Linked DNA regions of Homo sapiens: region 1 is linked to region 2. Evidence: promoter capture Hi-C in 16 types of primary human blood cells and fetal thymus (Javierre and others, 2016). All regions are on one chromosome and are shown on one strand. Each heading gives the region's core, a stretch centred on a gene start or on the middle of the fragment in contact. The rest is flanking DNA. Distances are from core to core; before and after follow the strand shown. Region 1 holds the start of SMG8 (SMG8 nonsense mediated mRNA decay factor). Region 2 holds the start of BCAS3 (BCAS3 microtubule associated cell migration factor).

Region 1 (6,010 bases), core at 3,429-5,928, 1.5 Mb before region 2:
GTTTTTCTCTTTCTAACCTTCTTTTTAAACTAGAAATATAATACCTATAGAAAAGTAAATGTTGGCCGGGTGCGGTGGCTCATGCCTATAATCCCAGCACTTTGGGAGGCCGAGGCAGGCAGATCACCTGAGGTCAAGAGTTCGAGACCAGTCTGGCCAACATGGTGAAACCCTGTCTCTACTAAAAATACAAAAATTAGCCGGGCATAGTGGCAGACACCTGTAATCCCAGCTACTGGGAAGGCTGAGCCAGAATGGCTTGAACCTGGGAGGCAGAGGTTGCAGTGAGCCGAGATCGCCCCATTGCACTCCAGCTTGAGCAACAAGAGCGAAACTGTCTCAAAAAAAAAAAAAAAGTATATGTTAAGTATAGAAAAATATATAAATTAAAAAATTATAGGCTTGGGGGCCAGGCACAGTGGCTCACACCTGTAATCCCAGCACTTTGGGAGGCCGAGGTGGGTGTATCACTTGAGGTCAGGAGTTTGAGACCAGCCTGGCCAACATGGTGAAACCCCGTCTCTACCAAAAAAAATATATAAAAATTATCTGGGTGTGGTGGCATGTGCCTATAGTCTCAGCTTCTCAGAAGACTGAGGCGTGAGAATCACTTGAACGATGGAAGTGGAGGTTGCAGTGAGCTGAGATCACACTACTGCACTACAGTCTGGGCAACAGAGTGAGACCTTGTCTCAAAAAAAAAAGAAAGAAAAAGAAAAATGCTTTATGGCCCAGTGCAGTGGCTCACACCTATAATCCTAGCACTTTGGGAGGCTAAGGCAGGAGGTTCGCTTGAGGCCAAGAGTTCAAAACAAGCCTGGGCAACACTGCAAGACCCCAACTCTACAAAAAACGAAAAATTAGCCGGGAGCGGTGATGTGTGCCTGTAGTCCCAGCTACTCAGGAGACTGAGGTGGAAGAATCACTTGAGCCCGGGAGGTTGAGGCTGCAGTGAGCTGTGTTTATACCACTGCACTCCAGCCTGCTGGGTAACAGAGCAAGACTCCATCTCAAAAAGAAAAGAAAAAATGCTTTGCTACATAATGAGGCCAGGCAAAAAAAAAAAGTCCTGTGGAAATCATATAGACAAACATTTGCAAAGCTGCTACTGCCATTGTACCAGTGTTAAAATGTGTTCTACCTTGCATCTTTTACTGATTTTTATGACAGATTTTATATTGTAACCATTTGAGAACTCTGTAAGTGCTATGGCTTCCTTAAACTACGATTTATCATATGCTCCCAGTGTTTACTTTGAGACTGAATGGCAACCAGAGAATGTAAACAACCAAGGTGCATCTGGTTATGTTTTAAAATAAAGATTAATAAAAGTTTTGGTTTTTCTCTTTCTAACCTTCTTTTTAAACTAGAAATATAATACCTATAGAAAAGTAAATGTTGGCCGGGTGCGGTGGCTCATGCCTATAATCCCAGCACTTTGGGAGGCCGAGGCAGGCAGATCACCTGAGGTCAAGAGTTCGAGACCAGTCTGGCCAACATGGTGAAACCCTGTCTCTACTAAAAATACAAAAATTAGCCGGGCATAGTGGCAGACACCTGTAATCCCAGCTACTGGGAAGGCTGAGCCAGAATGGCTTGAACCTGGGAGGCAAAGGTTGCAGTGAGCCGAGATCGCCCCATTGTACTCCAGCTTGAGCAACAAGAGCGAAACTGTCTCAAAAAAAAAAAAAGTATATGTTAAGTATAGAAAAATATATAAATTAAAAAATTATAGGCTTGGGGGCCAGGCACAGTGGCTCACACCTGTAATCCCAGCACTTTGGGAGGCTGAGGTGGGAGGATCACTTGAGGCCAAGAGTTTGAAACCAGTATGGGCAACATTGCAAGACCCTGTCTCTACAAAAAACAAAAAATTAGCCGGGCATGGTGGCATGTGCCTGTAGTCCCAGCTACTCGGGAGACTGAGGTGGGAGAATCACTTGAGTCCAGGAGGTTGAGGCTCCAGCGAGCAGTGTTCATACCACCTGCACTCCAGCCTGCTGGGTGACAGAGCAAGATGCTGTCTCAAAAAAAAAAAAAAAAAAAAAAGAAAGAAAAAAGAAAAATGCTTTGCTATATAACGAAGCCAGGCAGGAAAAAAAAGTCCATATAGATAAACATTTGCAAAGCTGCTACTGCCATTGTACAGTGTTAAAATGTGTTCTACCTTGCATCTTTAAATAAAGATTAATAAAAGTTTTGGTTTTTCCCTTTTTAACCTTTTTTTTTAACTAGAAATAATAATACCTATAGAAAAGTATATATTGGCCGGGCGCAGTGGCTCACGCCTGTAATCCCAGCACTTTGGGAGCCCAAGGCAGGTGGATCATGAGGTCAGAAGATCAAGACCATCCTGGCTAACACGGTGAAACCTGGTCTCTACTAAAAATACAAAAAATTAGCCGGGCGTGGTGGCAGGCGCCTGTAGTCCCAGCTACTTGGGAGGCTGAGGCAGGAGAATGGCATGAACCCGGGAGGCAGAGCTTGCAGGGAGCTGAGATCACGCCACTGCACTCCAGCCTGGGCAACAGAGTGAGACTCTGTCTCAAAAAAACAAAAAAGTATATAGTAAGTATAGAAAATATATGAATTAAAAAATCAATGCCGAGCGTGATGGCTCAAACCTATAATCCCAGCACTTTGGGAGGCCGGGGTGGGCAGATCACCTGGGGTTGGAAGTTCGAGACCAGCCTGGCTAACGTGGGGAAACCCCATCTCTACTAAAAATACAAGTTTAGGTGGGCGTGGTGGTACGTGCTTGTAATCCCAGCTACTTGGGAGGCTGAGGCAGAAGAATTGCTTGAGGAGACGGAGACAGGGAATAGGAGATGGAGGTTGCCGTGATCCCAGATAGCACCACTGCACTTCAGCCTGGGTGACAGAGTGAGACTCTGTCTCACAAAAAAAAAAAAAAAAAATTTTAGGCCGGAGGCGAGGTGTGGTGGCTGACACCTGTAATCCCAGCACTTTGGGAGGCCGAGGTGGGTGGATGATGTGAGGTCGGGAGTTCGAGACCAGCCTGGCCAACATGGTGAAACACCATCTCTACTAAAAATACAAAAATTAGCCGCCCATGGTGGTGCACCTGTAATCCCAGCTCCTTGGGAGGCTGAGGCAGTAGAATCACTTGAACCTGGGAGGTGGAGTTTGCAGTGAGCTTAGATTGCACCACTGTACTCCACTCTGGGCAACAGAGCAAGACTCTGTCTCAAAATATATATAATATATATTATTATGTATATATATAATATATATTATTATGTATATGTGTAATATATATTATTATGTATATATATAATATATATATTATATCATAATCCCTTCCCTCACTAAGTAATCACTGACCTACTTGGTACAATAAATATTTCCTTGCTTTTAGTAAGAACACACCCCTAAATGCAATGGTTTATTTTGCTTGCTTTTGAACTCTATAGAAATAAAATCAGGCCTGGCGCAGTGGCTCTCGCCTGTAATCCCACCACTTTGGGAGGCCGAGGCGGGCAGATCATGAGATCAGGAGATTGAGACTATCCTGGCCAACATGGTGAAATCCTGTCTCTATTAAAAATACAAAAGTTAGCTGGGTGTGGTCTCACGCACCTGTAATCCCAGCTACTTGGGAGGCTGAGGCAAGAGAATCACTTGCACCGGGGAGCCGGAGGTTGCAGTGAGTCGAGATCGCGCCACTGAACTCTAGCCTGGCCACAGAGCAAGACTGCATCTCCAAAAAAAAAAAAAAAAAAAAAAAAAAATAGAATTATAGGGTATATACACTTTTGTTTCTGATTTCTTTCAATCAACATTTATTTTAAAGATTCAGTCATGTTATTGTATAGTGCTATAGATAATTTTTTTAGATTCAAAGATTTTTATTTTTTACAAAACCCCAGAATAATAAACGTTATAATTATACATTTAAATCTGGTTGTAAGTTTTATCCTGGCAGCTATTTGTCAATATGCCTTCTAGTTAGAGAGGTTCTGCAAGTTATAATTTACATACAAAGATATTTCGCAATTTTTTTTTTTTTTGAGACGGAGTCTCACTCTGTCGCCCAGGCTGGAGTGCAGCGGGGTGATCTCGGCTCACTGCAACCTCCACCTCCTGGTTCGAGCAATTCTCCTGCCTCAGCCTCCTGAGCAGCTGGAACTACAGGTATGCGCCACCACGCCTAATTTTTGCTTTTTTTTTTTTTTTTTTTTTTTTTTTTAGACGGTTTTCGCTCTTGTTGCCCAGGCTGGAGTGCAATGGTGTGATCTCGGTTCACTGCAACTTCCGCCTCCCGGGTTCAAGCGATTGTCCTGCCTCAGCCTCCCGAGTAGCTGGGATTACAGGCGCCCGCCACCACGCCCGGCTAATTTTCGTATTTTTAGTAGAGATGGGGTTTCACCATGTTGGCCAGCCTGGTCTCGAACTCCTGACTTCAGGTGATCCGCCCGCCTTGGCCTCCCAAAGTGCTAGGATTACAGGCGTGAGCCACCGCAGTAGTCCCAGTTTTGTTTTGTTTTTTTGTTTTTTGTTTTTGATATCTCAATTCCTACAGTTGAGGAAACAAACTAGGAGAGGAGAAGAGGAGGCGGAACTCAAGTGACGGGAAAGCAGGAACTGAAGAAGCGGAGGAAGGATTTCAAAATTGGACGAAAGCCGGTCGGTTTTACTAACGGACCGGAAGGACTCTAGAGAACGCTCTGCACTATGGCTGGTCCCGTGAGCTTGCGAGACCTTCTAATGGGAGCATCAGCCTGGATGGGCTCTGAAAGTCCCGGAGGGTCCCCTACTGAGGGCGGAGGGAGCGCGGCTGGCGGACCGGAGCCTCCATGGCGGGAGGATGAGATCTGCGTTGTGGGAATCTTCGGCAAGACGGCTCTACGCCTGAATTCCGAGAAGTTCTCTCTTGTGAATACGGTGTGCGACCGACAGGTCTTTCCTCTCTTTCGCCACCAAGATCCTGGGGATCCAGGACCTGGAATCAGAACTGAGGCTGGCGCCGTGGGTGAGGCCGGTGGAGCCGAGGACCCTGGGGCTGCAGCCGGGGGTTCAGTTCGGGGAAGTGGAGCTGTCGCGGAAGGTAACCGAACTGAGGCAGGCTCCCAGGACTACAGCCTTCTGCAGGCCTACTACAGTCAGGAAAGCAAAGTTCTGTATCTTCTCCTCACCTCCATCTGTGACAATTCACAGCTTCTCCGGGCTTGTCGGGCTCTTCAGAGCGGGGAAGCTGGAGGTGGACTCTCTTTACCTCATGCAGAAGCACACGAGTTCTGGAAGCATCAAGAGAAGCTGCAGTGCCTCAGTCTCCTTTACCTATTCTCTGTCTGTCATATCTTGCTTCTGGTCCATCCCACTTGTTCCTTTGATATCACTTATGATCGAGTATTCAGAGCCCTGGATGGGCTGAGACAGAAGGTCCTGCCGCTCCTTAAAACAGCCATTAAGGATTGTCCAGTTGGCAAAGACTGGAAGCTAAACTGCCGACCTTGCCCACCTAGACTCCTTTTCCTCTTTCAACTCAATGGAGCCCTCAAGGTAGAACCTCCTCGGAACCAAGACCCAGCTCATCCAGACAAGCCCAAGAAACATTCTCCCAAAAGGAGGCTGCAGCATGCCCTGGAGGACCAGATCTATAGAATCTTCCGGAAGAGTCGTGTCTTGACTAATCAGAGCATCAACTGCCTCTTTACTGTGCCTGCCAACCAAGCTTTCGTGTACATAGTACCGGGAAGCCAGGAGGAGGACCCAGTAGGTATGTTGCTGGACCAACTTAGGAGTCATTGTACTGTGAAGGACCCGGAATCTTTGCTGGTGCCTGCACCCCTTTCTGGGCCTAGGCGATACCAGGTGATGAGGCAGCACAGCCGACAACAACTTTCCTTTCACATTGACAGCAGCAGTTCCAGTTCTTCAGGCCAGCTAGTGGATTTCACTCTTCGGGAATTCCTATGGCAGCATGTGGAGCTAGTTCTAAGCAAGAAAGGTTTCGATGACAGTGTGGGCAGGAACCCACAGCCTTCCC
Region 2 (5,666 bases), core at 1,232-3,731:
CAGGAGTGGTGGCGGGTGCCTGTAATCCCAGCTACTCAGGATGCCGAGGCAGAAGAATCGCTTTAACCCGCGAGGTGGACGTTGCAGTGAGCCAAGATTGAGACACTGCACTCCAGCCTGGTGACACAGTGAGACTCCATCTCAAAAAAAAAAAAAAGTTGGAGTCTTGCTCTGTCGCCCAGGCTGGAGTGCAGTGCCTTGATCTTGGCTCACTGCAACCTCCACCTCCCGGGTTTAAGTGATTCTCCTGTCCCAGCCTCCCGAGTAGCTGGGACTACAGGCGCACACCACCACGTCCAGCTAATTTTTGTATTTTTAGTAGAGACGGGGTTTCTCCATGTTGGTCAGTCTGGTCTTGAACTCCTGATCTCAGGTGATCCACCTATTTCGGCCTCCCAAAGTGCTGGGATGAGAGGTGTGAGCCATCACACCCAGCCTGAAGAACCATCTTAAGTTAGTACACATTTCAGGCTCTTTTTGTGTTAAGGGCAGGGGGAAGAAGAGAGGGTTTGAATCAAGGGGTGACTGATGACCGTAGACATCTGGGCGCCAGCAAGGGTTCCTCGAGGCCTGAAGCCTCTCTGTTACTGGTCAGGTCACAATACTTTCTCAAACTCTCAACATTGTTACTTGTGTGTACACCCTCCTTTTCTCCTTGGGGGTTAGTTTTGGGAAGGGACTATTATCATCCTTGCTTTAAAGTTAAACTATAAATTCCTCCCTTGGTTAGCTTAGTCTATGTGCAGAGATAAGCAAAAGCAGTTAACTTAGATATCACCGATGGGTGGGAGTGGGGAGTTTAGGAGCAAAATGGAGTTAGTCATGCTAGGCCTCCTTTTCAATGTTACAATTCCACATTATCAAGTTATTTCAATCCCACATTATCAAGTTATTTCAATATTTCCAAATATATTCTTCTTCTTCTTCTTCTTCTTTTTTTTTTTTTGAGCGAGAGTTTTGCTCTGTCGCCCAGAGGCTGGAGTGCAGTTGCACGATCTCGGCTCACTGCAACCTTCACATCTCGGATTCAAGCGATTCTCCTGCCTCAGCCTCCTGAGTAGTTGGGATTACAGGCGTGCACCATCAAAACCCGCTGATTTTTGTATTTTTAGTAGAGACAGAGTTTCACAAAGTTGGCAAGGCTGGTCTTGACCTCCTGACCTCAAGTGATCTGCCCCTCTCAGCCTCCCAAAGTGCTGGGATTACAGGTGTGAGCCACCGTGCCCGGCCTTTTCTTTCATTTCTTTTTTTAAAATTTTTTAAAATTTTATGTATGTATGTATGTATGTATGTATGTATGTATGTATGTATGTATCTATCTATCTATCTATCTATCTATCTATCTATCTATCTATCTGTCTTGAGAGGGACTCTCTGTCACCCAGGCTAAAGTGCTGGAGGGCAATGGCGTGATCTATAGGCTCACTGCAATCTCCGCCTCCTGGGTTCAAGCAATTCTTCCGCCTCAGCCTCCCCAGTAGCTAGGATTACAGGCATTGGCCACCACACCTGGCTATTTTTAGTAGAGACGGGGTTTCTTCATGTTGTCCAGGCTGTTCTAGAACTCCTGGCCTCAAGCGATCTTCCCGCCTAGGCTTCCCAAAATGTTGGGATTGCAGGCGTGAGCCACCACGCCCAGCCCACCACGCCTGTTAATAAGCTATACCCTCACGGACCTGTCATTGGCATTAAATTTGATAATACATTAGAGTATTGTATATGAAGTATACGAAGGCCTGTGCTGAGTGTTCAAGAAGTCAGTCAGTATTATTCTACTTATATTAATAAATGAACTGATGAAATGACAATGGCGAGATCTCGATCTTCAACAATAAGGGAGATGGAAACTGAAGCAAGAAGTGGTCTACAAACCTAGCTCAAATTGTTGAGATTACCGGCCGTGCCCCTTATTCAGATCAACCCCTCCTCGGCTGATCGCCGGCGCGAGCCAGCCTAGGCTCCCGGAAGGTAAACACATCGCCAAGGGCTGGGCAGAAGGCGGGTGTGGGACGGGTGAGTGGCCAGCTAAAAGTGATTGGCAGCTGCCATGTCCACGTGCTCCGAGCTTGGAACCAGCTGTCGCGAGAATTCGATGTAAACAGACCAGTCTCCCTGTCCTCCGGCTCCAACCTGAAACGCTCACGTGAGCGGGACAGGAGTCTGGATCATGTTGCTTTTCTTTTCAAAGCCACGAAGGTTCTGTCTTCCAAAAAAAATGTACATGTTCGTAATTATTCCCCAGCTGCCTGCGTTTGCAACCGAACCTGACACCTCGGCTTCACCCGAACTTACATGCTGTTGTGTTTTCCCTCCAGCCCCAGCGGATTGGACACATTCAGAAGGCGGGTCCGCCTCTTTCCTACTTGCTGGTTGGCGAAGCTGACCTCCAAGGGCGGTGCCCGGCCATAGCCGGTTTGCTTCTGGGATTGGCTAGAGGGGGTGGTTCCGCTGAGGCGTGGTAGGAAGTGGCTGCCGTCAATCACTCGGGGAGACTCCAAACAGTGAGCCTAGAGCTGGAGACTAGCGTTAACCGGCGGGGCGGCCGGTGAGAGGGCTGGCAGGGCTTTGGCTTTGGGGAGGCTTGGGGAGGACGAGGGACTGGCGGCGTGAGGGGACTGGGTCGGGCTGGCAGGAATTCGACAGGAGAGAGGTGTCGATACTGGAGGGGGAGGGGAACAGTGCAAGGGGCCGGAGGGCGGCCGGGGGCAGCGGTGGCTCCGTGTTGGAGGTTAAGTGGGCAGCGCCGTACGAGTGTCTTTCAGGAGACTGGGGCCTGAGTGGCTGGCGAGGGTCGTCCCCAGGAGACAGGGCCCTTAAAGGGCAGGGCTTGGGAGACTGTGGTTCGAGAAAGCAAGAATGGGATGAGAATGAGAGGGCTGAGGGGCTGGAGGTGCAGGTATCCTCTGAGGAGGTGGTGGCTCTGCTCCTTGGGGCAGAGGGTGTTTTGGTTGTAGGAGGTGGGGCGCACAGGTTTAGAGTTTTCACATCAGGTGTGAATGCTCCCTACTTAAAAATGGTTTTCGGTGCCTTCAAGATGAGTTCCAGGTTGTGGGCTTCCCTGAGCCCTGTAAGAGATCTTTGATATTGCTGTCAGTCCTCTTTTAACCTTAACCAAGCCGACTCCATGCTCTTAAAATCTCAGTGATTCAGAGGGTCATGAAACATTCTAGGATCAGGATTTACTGATGTGACGGGAAAGGGTAAAGGGCTGTAACAACGTATTAGTTTATGTTAGTTATTTGACTACTTGCTACTAGTCAAATAATTACTTGACTTATTTGTTATAGTAGCAGGGGGTTACGAATGTGATTTAAATTGTGATTTACTCATAGATTCCCAACAGGTTTAATTGGAAGGTAGAGTGATATCATGTCACTTGTTCCGTTTGGTCTTGAAATATTGTACCATGTGTATTTTCACTATCTCAACATAAAATTGCAGTAAATTCCCATCCCATGATCTGGTTCTCTCACCCTTGTAATTTATGTTAACAACAGACCAAGGGGTACAGCAGGAGTCTTCCTTACATTGTTTTGTGGTTCTGAGACCTGGTCCTATTAAAAAACAAAACAGGATGGGCGCGGTGGCTCAAGCCTATAATCCCAGCACTTTGGGAGGCTAAGGCGGATGGATTGCTTGAGCTCAGGAGTTCGAGACCAGCCTTGGCAACATGGTGAAACCCCGTCGCTACAAAAAAATATAAAATTTAGCTCGGCATGGTGGCGCTCGCCTGTAATCCCAGCTACTCAGGAGGCTGAGGCAGGAGAATTGCTTGAGCCTGGGAGGCGGAGATTGCCATGAGCAGAGATCGTGCCACTGAACTCCAGCCTGGGCGACAGAGCGAGACTCTATCTCAAAAATAATAATAACCCCCCAAACCCCTCATTATAATTTGAAAAAAATTAAAAACCTACTTCCTCCTTTTTTCCCTTTCTGGTGTAACAGGAATTTCTGGGAAAGTTTCCTACATTTGAGGCATTTTTGACAAGGGATCTCTAGTGAGTAATCATAAATCTTCCTCCCTACCCCCAACAACGATCCATGTTTTTCTGTTTTTTGTTTGTTTGTTTGTTCTGGAAACAGGTTTTATGAATGAAGCTATGGCTACAGATTCCCCAAGAAGACCCAGTCGTTGTACTGGTGGAGTTGTGGTTCGCCCCCAGGCTGTCACGTAAGCACATTTCAGATAAACCCAATAGCTGAAGAAAAGATTACTCAGAATACTAACATTTAGGTTTTCTTTATGAACAGTGGTTACTTTTGTAAAAATCTTTTAACTGTTGGCTTTATGGGATGAATAATAATAATTGCCAAGACCAAATGAAGAATTGGAGAGTTAAGTTGACGTATTCAGCACATTTACAGAGTACGTGAAGAGCACTATGCTAAATCCTGAAGAGCAGTGTTTTCAAACTCCAGGTTTAACAAATTAGTGGATTGTTAAATCAGTTTAGTGGGTCAGGAGTTGTAGTAGAAAATGAAATAGAGGCCGGGCGCAGTGGCTCATGCCTGTAATCCCAGCACTTTGGGAGGCCCAGGCAGGCGGATCACGAGATCAGGAGATCGAGACCATCCTGGCTAAAACGGTGAAACCCTGTCTCTACTAAAAATACAAAAAATTAGCCGGGTATGGTGGCCCCTGTAGTCCCAGCTACTCGGGAGGCTGAGTCAGGAGAATGACGTGAACCTGGGAGGTGGAACTTGCAGTGAGCTGAGATCGCGCCACTGCACCCTAGCCTGGGCGACACAGCAAGACTCTGTCTCCAAAAAAAAAAAAAAAAAGAAAGAAAATGAAATAGAATATAATAGAAAATTAGAAAATATAGCTGAGAGTTTGTATTGTTTCATGACATGCACATAAATATGTTCATGTGTATGTATATATTTACCAGACAGTGATGTAAAATGTATCTCTTTTAACTTTTAAGTTCAAGGGTACATGTGCAGGTTTGTTATATAGGGAAACTCATGTCACAGGGGTTTGTTGTACAGATTATTTCATCACCCAGGTATTAAGCATAGTCCCCATTAGTTATTTTTCCTGACCCTCTCCCCGCTCCCACCCAACTCTGATAGGCACCAGTGTGTGGTGTTCCCGTCTATGTATCCATGTGTTATCTATAAAAGGAATCTCTTAGTCTAGGTCTCTGTCAGAAAGTTTCAAAGTAAGTGTCATAGTATATGTCTCTGTTTTTGGCATTCTTTGACAAAGAATGTCTATACTTACTAGAGTGAGTTTATAATCTAATATGGTTTGAAGATATGTATACTTTTTTTTTTTTTTTAGATGGAGTCTCACTCTGTTGCCCAGGTTGGAGTGCAGTGGCGCCGTCTCGGCTCGCTGCAGCCTCCACCTCCTCCTCTGTCTCCCAGATTCAAGCGATTCTCCTGCCTTGGCCTCCCAAGTAGCTGGGATTACAGGCGAGCGCCACCAGGCCTGGCCAAATTTTGTATTTTTAGCAAAGACGGGGTTTTGCCATTTGGCCAGGCTGGTCTTGAACTCCTGACCTCAGGTGATCTGCCTGTCTTGGCCTCCCAAAGTGCTAGAATTACATGTGTGAGCCACTGTGCCTGGCCAAAGATATGTATACTTGAAGGCTGACATGGGAGGATTGCTTGAAACCAGGAGTTTGACACCAGCCTGAACAACATCCTGAGACCCTCAT

Evidence for each region. The method cuts DNA at HindIII sites, captures the fragments that hold promoters and counts their contacts. A CHiCAGO score of 5 or more calls a contact.
Region 1: a contact is called between the fragment with the promoter of SMG8 here and the fragment with the promoter of BCAS3 in region 2, in 1 of 17 cell types (neutrophils). The highest score is 5.5, in neutrophils.

Annotation. Positions count from the first base shown.
Region 1 is chr17:59,205,357-59,211,366 of GRCh38, forward strand. SMG8 (SMG8 nonsense mediated mRNA decay factor) reads left to right here and starts at 4,679. Exons shown (of 4, transcript NM_018149.7): 1 at 4,679-6,010. The coding sequence starts at 4,696. It overlaps PRR11 (proline rich 11), which reads left to right. Exons shown (of 10, transcript NM_018304.4): 10 at 1-1,353. RefSeq lists an enhancer at 4,488-4,557. The HindIII fragment of the contact is 12,029 bases long and covers 1-5,693 here.
Region 2 is chr17:60,675,370-60,681,035 of GRCh38, forward strand. It overlaps BCAS3 (BCAS3 microtubule associated cell migration factor), which reads left to right and starts at 2,482. Exons shown (of 24, transcript NM_017679.5): 1 at 2,482-2,545; 2 at 4,084-4,171. The coding sequence starts at 4,089. RefSeq lists a silencer at 1,862-2,615 and enhancers at 2,034-2,203, 2,374-2,523. The HindIII fragment of the contact is 12,302 bases long and covers 1-5,666 here.